Regions from separate parts of the Homo sapiens genome. Here region 1 is linked to region 2. Evidence: promoter capture Hi-C in human tissues and cell types (Jung and others, 2019). All regions are on one chromosome and are shown on one strand. Each heading gives the region's core, a stretch centred on a gene start or on the middle of the fragment in contact. The rest is flanking DNA. Distances are from core to core; before and after follow the strand shown.

Evidence for each region. The method cuts DNA at HindIII sites, captures the fragments that hold promoters and counts their contacts. A contact is called where the count stands out against the background at its distance.
Region 1: a fragment that was not itself captured here is called in contact with the fragment with the promoter of EML3 in region 2 in 1 of the 25 tissues and cell types used here (dorsolateral prefrontal cortex).

What each region holds. Positions count from the first base shown.
Region 1 is chr11:62,160,921-62,165,989 of GRCh38, reverse strand. No RefSeq gene overlaps it. Among named protein-coding and RNA genes, the nearest start is that of SCGB1D1, 27 kb to the left of the region's middle. The HindIII fragment of the contact is 4,748 bases long and covers 1-4,735 here.
Region 2 is chr11:62,611,333-62,616,291 of GRCh38, reverse strand. It overlaps EML3 (EMAP like 3), which reads left to right and starts at 3,517. Exons shown (of 22, transcript NM_153265.3): 1 at 3,517-3,856; 2 at 4,696-4,867; 3 at 4,948-4,959. The coding sequence starts at 3,835. It overlaps ROM1 (retinal outer segment membrane protein 1), which reads right to left and starts at 3,035. Exons shown (of 3, transcript NM_000327.4): 1 at 2,421-3,035; 2 at 1,788-2,034; 3 at 1,176-1,671. The coding sequence starts at 3,010. The coding sequence ends at 1,453. It overlaps B3GAT3 (beta-1,3-glucuronyltransferase 3), which reads left to right. Exons shown (of 5, transcript NM_012200.4): 5 at 493-996. The coding sequence ends at 591. RefSeq lists enhancers at 3,041-3,100, 3,874-4,433, 4,434-4,959 and a silencer at 3,151-4,030. The HindIII fragment of the contact is 22,621 bases long and covers 1-4,959 here.

The DNA.
Region 1 (5,069 bases), core at 1,112-3,611, 450 kb after region 2:
CACTCTCCTCAATCTGCTTCAGTAGAACGTGAGACACAACTGTTGAAGGCCAGCAGCCCCTGGTCCCGAGCGCGGCAGTGCCACAGTGGATGCTCTCCCACCTGAGCCCTCGGACTGGGCCTCAGTGGGTCCTGCTCCCACAAGTGTCACTGTCTCAATCCGGAGAGTGGAGCTCGTAGGAACAGGACCTCATTGCCACATTTTCTTGGCCCCTTTCATTAAAAACACTGCAATCACCTTCATGGTAAGGCTCCTCCCTGTGGAGGTCTCCTACAGAAGTAGGTGAGGACTGGTTGCTGGGATTGAAGAGAGTGGCATGGTAGCTGAGGATAATAAGGGGTACTGGGGTAAGACGGAGAGGTTTGGGGGCCACACAAGTTGTCCATCTAGGGAACGTAGAGGTCACCTAGATCAAGCCAGTGTTGCCCAAGTAGCAAAAAAAAAGAAAAAAGAAAAAAAAAGTCTGGTCTTTTTTAGCCCCGAGAGGTGTCTTTGATGAAATTCTGACCAGATGAAGCCACCATCACTGCCCTGGGCTTACACATTACCTACATACCCTAAATCAATCACTGTCTGTTTTCTGTCTTTCTCTAAGCCATAGAGCCTGCTCTCTATCTGTTAAGTCTAGGGCCATCACAAACATGCAAACAATGACACTGTAAGATAACTTGGGCCAGGTGCAGTCACTCAAGCCTGTAATCCCAGCACTTTGGGAGGCGGAGGGTAGGTAGATCACCTGAGGTCAGGAGTTCGAGACCAGCCTGGCCGACAAACATGGAGAAACCCCATCTCTACTGAAAACACAAAAATTAGCCAGGCATGGTGGCGGATGCCTGTAAGCCCAGCTACTCGGGAGGCTGAGGCAGGAGAATAGCTTGAACTCAGGAGGCAGAGGTTGCAGTGAGCCGAGATCATGCCACTGCACTCCAGCCTGGGTGACAGAGCGAGACTCCTTCTCAAAAAACAAACAAACAAACTAACAAAACAAAACAAAACAAAACAAAACAAAAAACACCACATAAGATAACTGGGGCAGAAGGCCTCTAGCCCCTAGCCCCTAGCCCCTTTCCCTACCATTCCCGCAGTAGTGGCTGCACCCCTCCAGTCCTTTCTGCTGCACCCCCAGCACCTCTGGGGCACTTTCTGAGTTAAATAATTAGTTATAGGAGTCCTCACTGGGCATAATCCATACTTGTCTTATTACAGTGTCCCAGGGGCAAGTAGGACAGGAGCCCTGCAGAGGGCTCCTGCCTCTGTTATTCTCAAATCACAACTCAAAGACACTAAACACATTCCTCAAGATCCCTTACTCCAATTCTCAAGGACCAATTCCCCACTCAACCAATCCTGCCAGGCCAGGGGCAGAGCTGGCAGGAAGAATAGAGATCCAAAAAAAAAAAAAACCGTCATAGCTTTCATGGGTTATTAGCTCCTGTTCTTTTATAGGAGCTCCTATTAGCTCCTATTCTTTTATAGGTAGAATAGTTCACCTGAAATTAATCTGATACTATCAACTTTCCTATATCATAATAGCAGAGGAATGGGCATATTTAAAGTGCAAATTAATACAGGTAGGGGTATGTGTGTGTGTATCTGTGGGCAAGTAAGATTAAAGCTTCATGGATCAGGCAACCAAACCTGAGTCAAAGTATCCATCTTCATGTCAGCTGTTTCAGGCTTAATAAACTGCAATAAAAGCAAATACCCCCACAAAGGAATGACTACTTAAAAGGCACTTTAAAAGCCCCCCTGGCCGGGTGTGGTGGCTCACACCTGTAATCCCAGCACTTTGGGAGTCCGAGGTGGGTGGATCACCTGAGGTCGCGAGTTCGAGACCAGTCAGGCCAACATGGTGAAACCCCATCTCTACTAAAAATACAAAATTATCCAGGCATGGTGGTATGTGCCTGTAATCCCAGCTACTAGGGAGGCTGAGACAGGAAAATCACTTGAACTCGGGAGGCGGAGGTTGCAGTGAGCTGAGATTGCACCATTGCACTCCAGTCTGGGCAACAAGAGTGAAACTCTGTCTCAGAAAGGAAAAAAACAAAAACAAAAAAGAACTCCCCTTTGCAAGCTGTAGTTTACTTCCTCCTTCCAGCATGCAGGGTAGATCTCTTTGGTTGAGAACATTCAAAATTACTGGACAGGAGTGGGGATGTGGTTGGGGTTGGCCATGTAAGTTACTTTCTACTTTGCTGGCTCAGAGCAGTGAGCACTGTAAGGAGTACAGAGCAGGTGCTTCAGGCATCAGGTAACTCAGCTTAGCTCTGAGTGCTGCTACCCAGGTTTCTATAGATGTCCAAGGAAGCCTCAGAATCAAGCTCCAAGAGGTTCAGATAGGAGAATAACCTGCGATCTGCATTGTTTGCAATCCCTTGGAATACAGGTTACAGCCCACTTTCCTTCTCATGCCTGCTCTTTCTTCTTTCTTAAACCTGGAGGAATGTTTGCACCATGGAAGCCCAGAGGGAAGAAAGGCTGCTATGGGTCTTGCCCCCGCAGAACTCAGCCAGCAGCCACAGTTGCTCAGTAGCAAGTGGTACCCACAGTTCAAGGCCCCAGATCCCACTGCAACACGTGGACTAGGCATGTGCTGTGAAAAGCCCAGATGGAGCCAGAAAAAAGCTGTGGCTTAGTTTACTTAAGGGAGACAGGAAAAGCCTCACATGGCAGGTAGCTAGCAGGTACTTGACAAGAGGAAATGTGCCAGGCATGCAACGGGGTGGGCTACAGTGAAGGGTGGGGTTAGCATCCATAAATGGGTCCTACTGAAGCAAGAAAGCCTGGATAATCCCAGGTTTTCTCATCTTCATCCTAACCAAGTGGTGAGGATCAAGCCCCGTTCTATTCCTGAGAATACGGCAGGATGGGCTATTTGTACCATCCCACCCCGGGGCAGAATGAAAGATGCTGAGTAACAGTAACTTTTAAAGAGCAAAAGTTTCTAATTTTGATGAAGTCCAATTGACTTTTGCTTTTATAGTTCACACTTTTGGTGTCATATGTAAAAAACCTGTGCCAAACACAAAGACACTAGGATTTTCTCCTGTTTTCTTATTTATTTATTTACTTATTATACTTTAAATTCTGAGGTACAGGTGCAGAATGTGCAGTTTTGTTACATAGGCATACATGTGCCATGGTGGTTTGCTGCACCCATCAACTCGTCACCTACATTAGGTATTTCTTTTAATGCTATCCCTCCCCTAGCTTCTCACCTGCCGACAGGCCCCAGTGTGTGATGTTCCCCTCGCTGTGTCCATGTGTTCTCCTTGTTCATCTCCCACTTATGAGTGAGAACGTGCAGTGTTTGGTTTTCTGTTCCTGTGTTAGTTTGCTGAGGATGATGGTTTCCAGCTTCATTCATGTCCCTGCAAAGGACATTAACTCGTCCTTTTTTATGGCTGCAAAGTATTCCATGGTGTATATGTGCAAGATTTTCTTTATCCAATCTATCATTGATGGACATTTAGGTTGGTTCCAAGTCTTTGTTGTTGTGAATAGTGCCGCAATAAACATACATGTGCATGTGTCTTTATGGTAGAATGATTTAAAATCCTTTGGGTATATACCCACTAATGGGATTGCTGGACAGAATGGTATTTCTAGTTCTAGATCCCTGAGGAATCGCCACACTGTCTTCCACAATGGTTGAACTAATTTACACTCCCACTGATAGTAAAAGTGTTCCTATTTCTCCACATCCTCACCAGCACCTGTTATTTCCTGACTTTAATAATCACCATTCTAACTGGTGTGAGATGGTATCTAATTGTGGTTTTGATTTGCATTTCTCTAATGACCAGTGATGATGAGCTTTTTTTCATGTTTGTTGGCTGCATAAATGTCTTCTTTTGAGAAGTGTCTGTTCATATCCTTTGCCCACTTTTTAATGGGGTTGTTTGTTTGTTTCTTGTAAATTTGTTTAAGTTCTTTGTAGATTCTGGATATCAGCCCTTTGGCAGATGGATAAATTGCAAAAATTTTCTCCCATTCTGTAGATTGCCTGTTCACTCTGATGATAGTTTCTTTTGCTGTGCAGAAGCTTTTTAGTTTAATTATATCCCATTTGTCAATTTTGACTTTTGTTGCCATTGCTTTTGGTGTTTTAGACATGAACTCTTTGCCCATACCTATGTCTTGAATGGTATTGCCTAAGAATCTTCTATCATTTTTATGGTTTTAGGTCTTACATTTAAGTCTTTAATCCATCTTGAGTTAATTTTTGTATAAGCTGTAAGGAAGGGGTCCAGTTTCAGTTTTCTGAATATGGCTACCAGTTTTCCCAACACCATGTATTAAATAGGGAATCCTTTCCCCATTGCTTGTTTTTGTCAGGGTTGTCAAAGATCAGATGGTTGTAGATGTGTGGTGTTATTTCTGAGGCCTCTGTTCTGTTCCATTGGTCTATATATCTGTTTTGGTACCAGTACCATGCTGTTTTGGTTACTGTAGCCTTGTACTATAGTTTGAAGTCAGGTAGTGTGATGGCTCCAGCTTTGTTCTTTTTGCTTAGGATTGTCTTGGCCATGCGGGCTCTTTCTTGGTTCCATATGAGATTTAAAGTAGTTTTTTCCAATTCTGTGAAGAAAGTCAATGGCGGCTTGATGGGGATAGCATTGAATCTATAAATTACTTTGGGCAGTATGGCAATTTTCACGATATTGATTCTTTCTATCCATGAACATGGAATGTTTTTCTATTTATTTGTGTCCTTTCTTATTTCCTTGAGCAGTGGTTTGTAGTTCTCCTTGAAAAGGTCCTTCACATCCCTTGTAAGTTGTATTCCTAGGTATTTTATTCTCTTTGTAGCAATTGTGAACAGGAGTTCACTCATGACTTGGCTCTCTGTTTATTATTGGTGTATAGGAATGCTTGTGATTTTTGCACATTGATTTTGTATCCTGAGACTTTGCTGAAGTTGCTTATCAGCTTAAGGAGATTTTGGGCTGAGATGGTGGAGTTTTCTAAATATACAATCATGTCATCTGCAAACAGAGACAATTTGACTTCCTCTTTTCATATTTGAATACACTTTATTTCTTTCCCTTGCCTGATTGGCCTGG
Region 2 (4,959 bases), core at 2,268-4,767:
AGAGAGGATGAAGGAATAAGGCCCTGTTTGTTGTTTTTTTTTTTTTTTCAGACAGAGTCTCGCTGTGTCACCCAGGCTGGAGTGCAGTAGCGCAATCTTGGCTTAGCGCAAGCTCCGCCTCCCGGGTTCACACCATTCTCCTGCCTCAGCCTCCCAAGTAGCTGGGACTACAGGCACCCGCTACCACGCCCGGCTAATTTTTTTGTGTTTTTAGTAGTGACGGGGTTTCACGGTGTTAGCCAGGATGGTCTCAATCTCCTGACCTCGTGATCCGCCTTCCTCGGCCTCCCAAAGTGCTGGGGTTACAGGCGTGAGCCACGCGCCCGGCCAAGGCCCGGTTTTAGAGGCACTAAGTCTTCCTCCACCCTGCCCTTTACACTTTGAAGCCTATACTGTATATGTCGATAGGGTTAGAGAATCCATTCCAGGCTCGGGGACCCAGAGGCCTGGCTGCAGCTGGGCCTGGCTCTCACTGCATCCCTCCTGGCACAGGTACTGGTGTGGCATACTCGGACAGAGAAGCCCAAGATGAAGCAGGAGGAGCAGCTGCAGCGGCAGGGCCGGGGCTCAGACCCAGCAATTGAGGTGTGATGGCGGCCCCACCCCAACTACCACCTCTTTTCAGGCACAGACCTTGTGGGACTGGGCCCCAGGCCTGCCCAGGATGTGGTTTTCCAAGTCCTGACCCTTGGAGCCAGAAGTGGCCCCTCTGCCCCTCCAGGCCCAGGGCATGGTCCTGCTGCTTCACCCCTCCCCTAGCCTGCCGTGTGGCACTGCCCACAGGCTGGGGACAAGCAGCCCTTGTGTTGAGTCAGGTTGGCCCTGTCTAGGGTGGAACAGAAGGACAGATGGACCCAGGAGGGAGGGCAGCTGAGTAACTGGGTAACTTATTGGGGCTGGGCATGCACTGGGGGGCTGGAGGAGCTGGGCTGGACCCTTCCCACCTGAGCATGCTGACCCCCTTCCTACCTCCAGAATAAAGAATCTCAACCTGGAGGGGCCTCTTGTTTTCCTTTGCTTCTTACATTGGGTTCTTGCTTTCTGATCCTTACAGATGTGGGCTCCTGTTGCTGCACAGGTCGAGCCAGGGTCCAAACTTTGGAGTCCTAGCTGCTCCATCAGACAGAAATCAGTTCTCCCAGGCCCCCATCCCCTTGACAAGAAAAAGCAATTGCTTCCATCCAAAAACTTTATTGAGTCTATATCAGAATCAGCCTCCAGGCCTTCTCATGTCACTTTCCCATCACTCTGTTCTTTGCTGTTCCCTGGTGGTTCTGACTACAAGGGCTAGGCCCTAGGACATCTGGTTTTCTTTCTTACCCCAGTCCAGCTCGCTGACTATCCTTAGCCCCTCTAATCCTACGATCCCCCCAACCTGGAGCCTTGGTAAGGAGTTGTGAGGTTTTCAGACTTGTCCATCCCTCCCTCTTCCTCACCCCAAGCTCCAGGCCTCTAGGCCTCAGATAGATCCTCCTTGGGAGGTGCTTCTCCTGGTGGGGCCTCCTCAGGTGCTGGCCTGCAGGCAACCCCTCCCTGTAGCCATGCTGTTTTCAGCATATCTTTCAGCCCACTGGGAAAGAGATAGCCCTGGGTCTCTCCTCCCGCATCAATGACCCCTCCAAGCCCCTCCAGTGCTGTTTGCAGGTACCGCAGGCCAAGGAGCACCAGAGCCTGTGGGGGAAGCAAGGGGAAAGAGTCAGGGAGAGTCAGCGGTTCCAAGAGGCCCAGGGTTGGAGGCAGGGAGGAGTCCCGGGTGGGAGGAGGTGTCAGATGCTTTGCTGACTCACCTGCAGTAGGAAGGTGACAGCCAGCATGCTACCCAGTGTGCCTGCCAAGTCCTGCAAGTGCTCCAGCAGCACCTCATGGCACCCTTGGGCCCAGAGGTTTTGGTTGGGTTGTCGGGGATCGAACAGGGGGTGGGCGTAGGAGTCTGAAAGACGGTTTTGCAGGCAAGGCCGGGGTGAGTGGGGGTTGCAACAGGAGAAAGGGACCCCATCAGTCAGGTATAGGCCTTCTACATTGCTCTGGATCCGGCTGCAAAGGGAGGGACAGAGGGGTTAGGATGTCTGGAGATAGAGGCCTGGGGGAGGGACTGAAGGGCACAGGTGTTCAGAAGGGAAAAAGAATAGTAAAACATTTACTGACTGCTGTACTATGTGCCAGCCAAGCATAATTCACATCTTCACAACAACTCTATCAGATAAGTACTATTATTTCCATTTTACAGGTGAAGGAATGGGCCCAGGGTGGTTTGGTAACATGCCCTGGGTTTCACAGCTAATAAATGGCAGAGCTGTAACCAGTCTCTCAGCCACTATGTTCTACTTATTGCCCCTCTGAGCGAGGTGGGGATTCAAGGCAGCAGGAGGGAGCCTGTCCAGGGAGGAGGAGGAGGAGGAAGGGAGACGCAAATCACTCACTCAGCCACATCCCGGTCACCGGGATCCAGGTAACGGCTGCTGACCCACTGGACCCCAAACCAATCCTTGTACCCGTGGCGCCCGCAGCAGTGGTACCTCAGTTGCAGCTCATCCACCAGCCTTTTGGCCTGACAGTGCCCAGGCACCTCTGTGTCCTTGTAGTGAGCCAAGGCAGTCACCAGGCCCTCCTCCAGCGCCTCATCCAGACTCCCAGGCAAAGCCAGGGCTAGCCCGAGGCCGACGACCAGGAGCCCCCCCCCACCAGCCGTGCCAGCCACCAGCAGCGGGCCCAGGACCCCTCGCCAGGGAGGGTATAGAGCTGCATTCAGACTTGCCCGGCTGGCTCCTACACCCACTAGTCCTGTGCCCAGAGCCACCGCGCCCGCTGCCAGGGCAGCCTGGGGCAGGACAGGGAACTGACAGGAGGGAGCCAGGAAGGTGCCAAGGTGCCTTAGCTGGACCAGGAGGTGCCCACTACAGAGGAGGATGACGCCACCAGCCAGCGCCAGCAGCCAGGAGAGGAGCCAGAGCCCTTGTGCCAGGCGGATGCGGGGCTGCAGGGGCAGCACCAGGGGCAACACCGGCGCCATCTCCCATCTCTGCCCAAGGGAATGCAGAGGTGTCAGGGATGGAAGCTGGCTGGGGCAGGATGCTGAGTCAGCCCGGCCCGGCTTGAGCTGGGCTAATGCCACCCTGACCCCAATACCCTGAGCATCCTCCCATCCTCAGCCCTAATAACCCGCCCCCCTGTCAGCCCCAATACAAGATGCCTTGGCCTTGCCCCTTACGAGAAACTCCGCCCCTAGGCCGAGGGCCCGTTTTGTGACCCCGCCCCTGCCCCTCGCGGAAGTGGTGGGGTTGGTCCGCTCAACCCTGAGGGGTTAGGGGCTGGGGGGCGGAGATATCGGGGCGGGCGCTCCCTTCCCCGTCCCCTGGGAATCCGGGGGCGGGGATCCGGGAAGGGCCTGGAGCCGGAGGCCGGGAGTAGGCCAGGGGGTCAGCCGGCTAGCCCCGCCCCCGTACTGAGCGGCGAGGCCCGGACAGGGAGGGGTTACCAAGCGGCCCGGCCCCCCCTCGGGCCCGCCCCCCCTCCCGCGCTTCCTGGCGGCTCCGCGTCCGGCGCCTGTTTGTGCTGCGGCGCTGTGGCACCGGACGGCCCTGCCACCCCACCCCCGGGAGCCGAGAGCGGCCCCGGGAGAGTCCGAGGGCCCGGGGGGGTCTGGAGACTGCGGCCCCGGGCCCACAGCGCCCCCTCCAGGCCCCTTCCCCGCGCCCGACAGCGCCCCCTCGGGGTGGTGGTACGGCGCCCTTCGCGCGCGCCCCGGGGTGCTTCCCCTTCCCCTCTCCCCGGCCGTGGCCCCCGCGGCTTAGACGCCTCCTCCGCCGCCGCCGCTCGGAGCAACCCGGGGGCCGGATGGACGGGGCCGCGGGGCCCGGTGAGTACGGGGCGGGGCGGGCGGCGTGCCCCTTCCCGGAGCGCCCGGCTCGTCGGGTTATGCCAGAGCTGGACGGCTGTCTGGAGGCGTCCCCGCGTGCTCCTCCGCCCCAGGGGCTCCGAGCATCCTCCACAGTTCCTCCGGTCGCCCTCCCTAGTTGCTTGGGTCTTGCTGTCACTTCGGGCTTCCCCAGCGTCATTCTACGCCCCACGTAACTCCGGGCCCCTCGATGTTTCCCTGCCCCCTGCGTTACTCCGGGCCTCTTCTCGTGGTATTTCAGGTCTTTTTCCTTCTGATCCCCACTGCCCCCTGAGACCTTCACTGTGACTCTGCTCACCACTCACACTCTCTCCTGTCACTCTGGATCTCTTTTCTTGTACTCTGGGTCCTCAGTATGACTCCATTCCCGCACCCCGTTCTCTCTCCTGGTGTTCCCCCGGCTCAGTTACTCAGCTTTCGCTGGAGACCTGAGCTTGCTGGGGGCGCGTGGGGAGGGCTGCGGTCCCTGCCCTCACCAGTGCGGCGCCTCTCTCTGTGGCTCCCACGTTCCTCGGCAGTACTCCATATTTCCCCCCCGGTACTCCATGGTACTCCCAGTCTTTGCGGAGGCTGAGACGGCAGCAGGAAGGGAGCTTTGCCAGGTTTCTCGCCTGCCCTGCCAGAAGGAGGCCCTTGATCCTTTACCACCGTCTCCTCCCCTCTGGACGAGCATTCAAGCCTGGGGCTGCCTGAAAGGGGCAGTCCTACCGGACACATGTAAAGTTGTGGGGAGACAGAATCCCCTCTACGCTTTCTTCAGGTGATGGGTACATTCTGAGTACCTCTTGCCCTTTTCCCAGGTGACGGCCCTGCTCGGGAGGCCCTCCAGTCTCTGAGCCAGCGGCTTCGGGTGCAGGAGCAGGAGATGGAACTGGTAAAGGCAGCCCTGGCAGAAGCCCTTCGCCTGCTGCGGCTGCAGGTGCCCCCTTCCTCCCTGCAGGGCTCTGGCACACCAGCTCCTCCGGGGGACAGGTATGCATGTCATCACACCCCATTTTTCCTCCTCCTTGGGGCCTCTGGGGCTTCAGGTTAATTCAACATCTCTCCAGCAGTCTTGCAGCCCC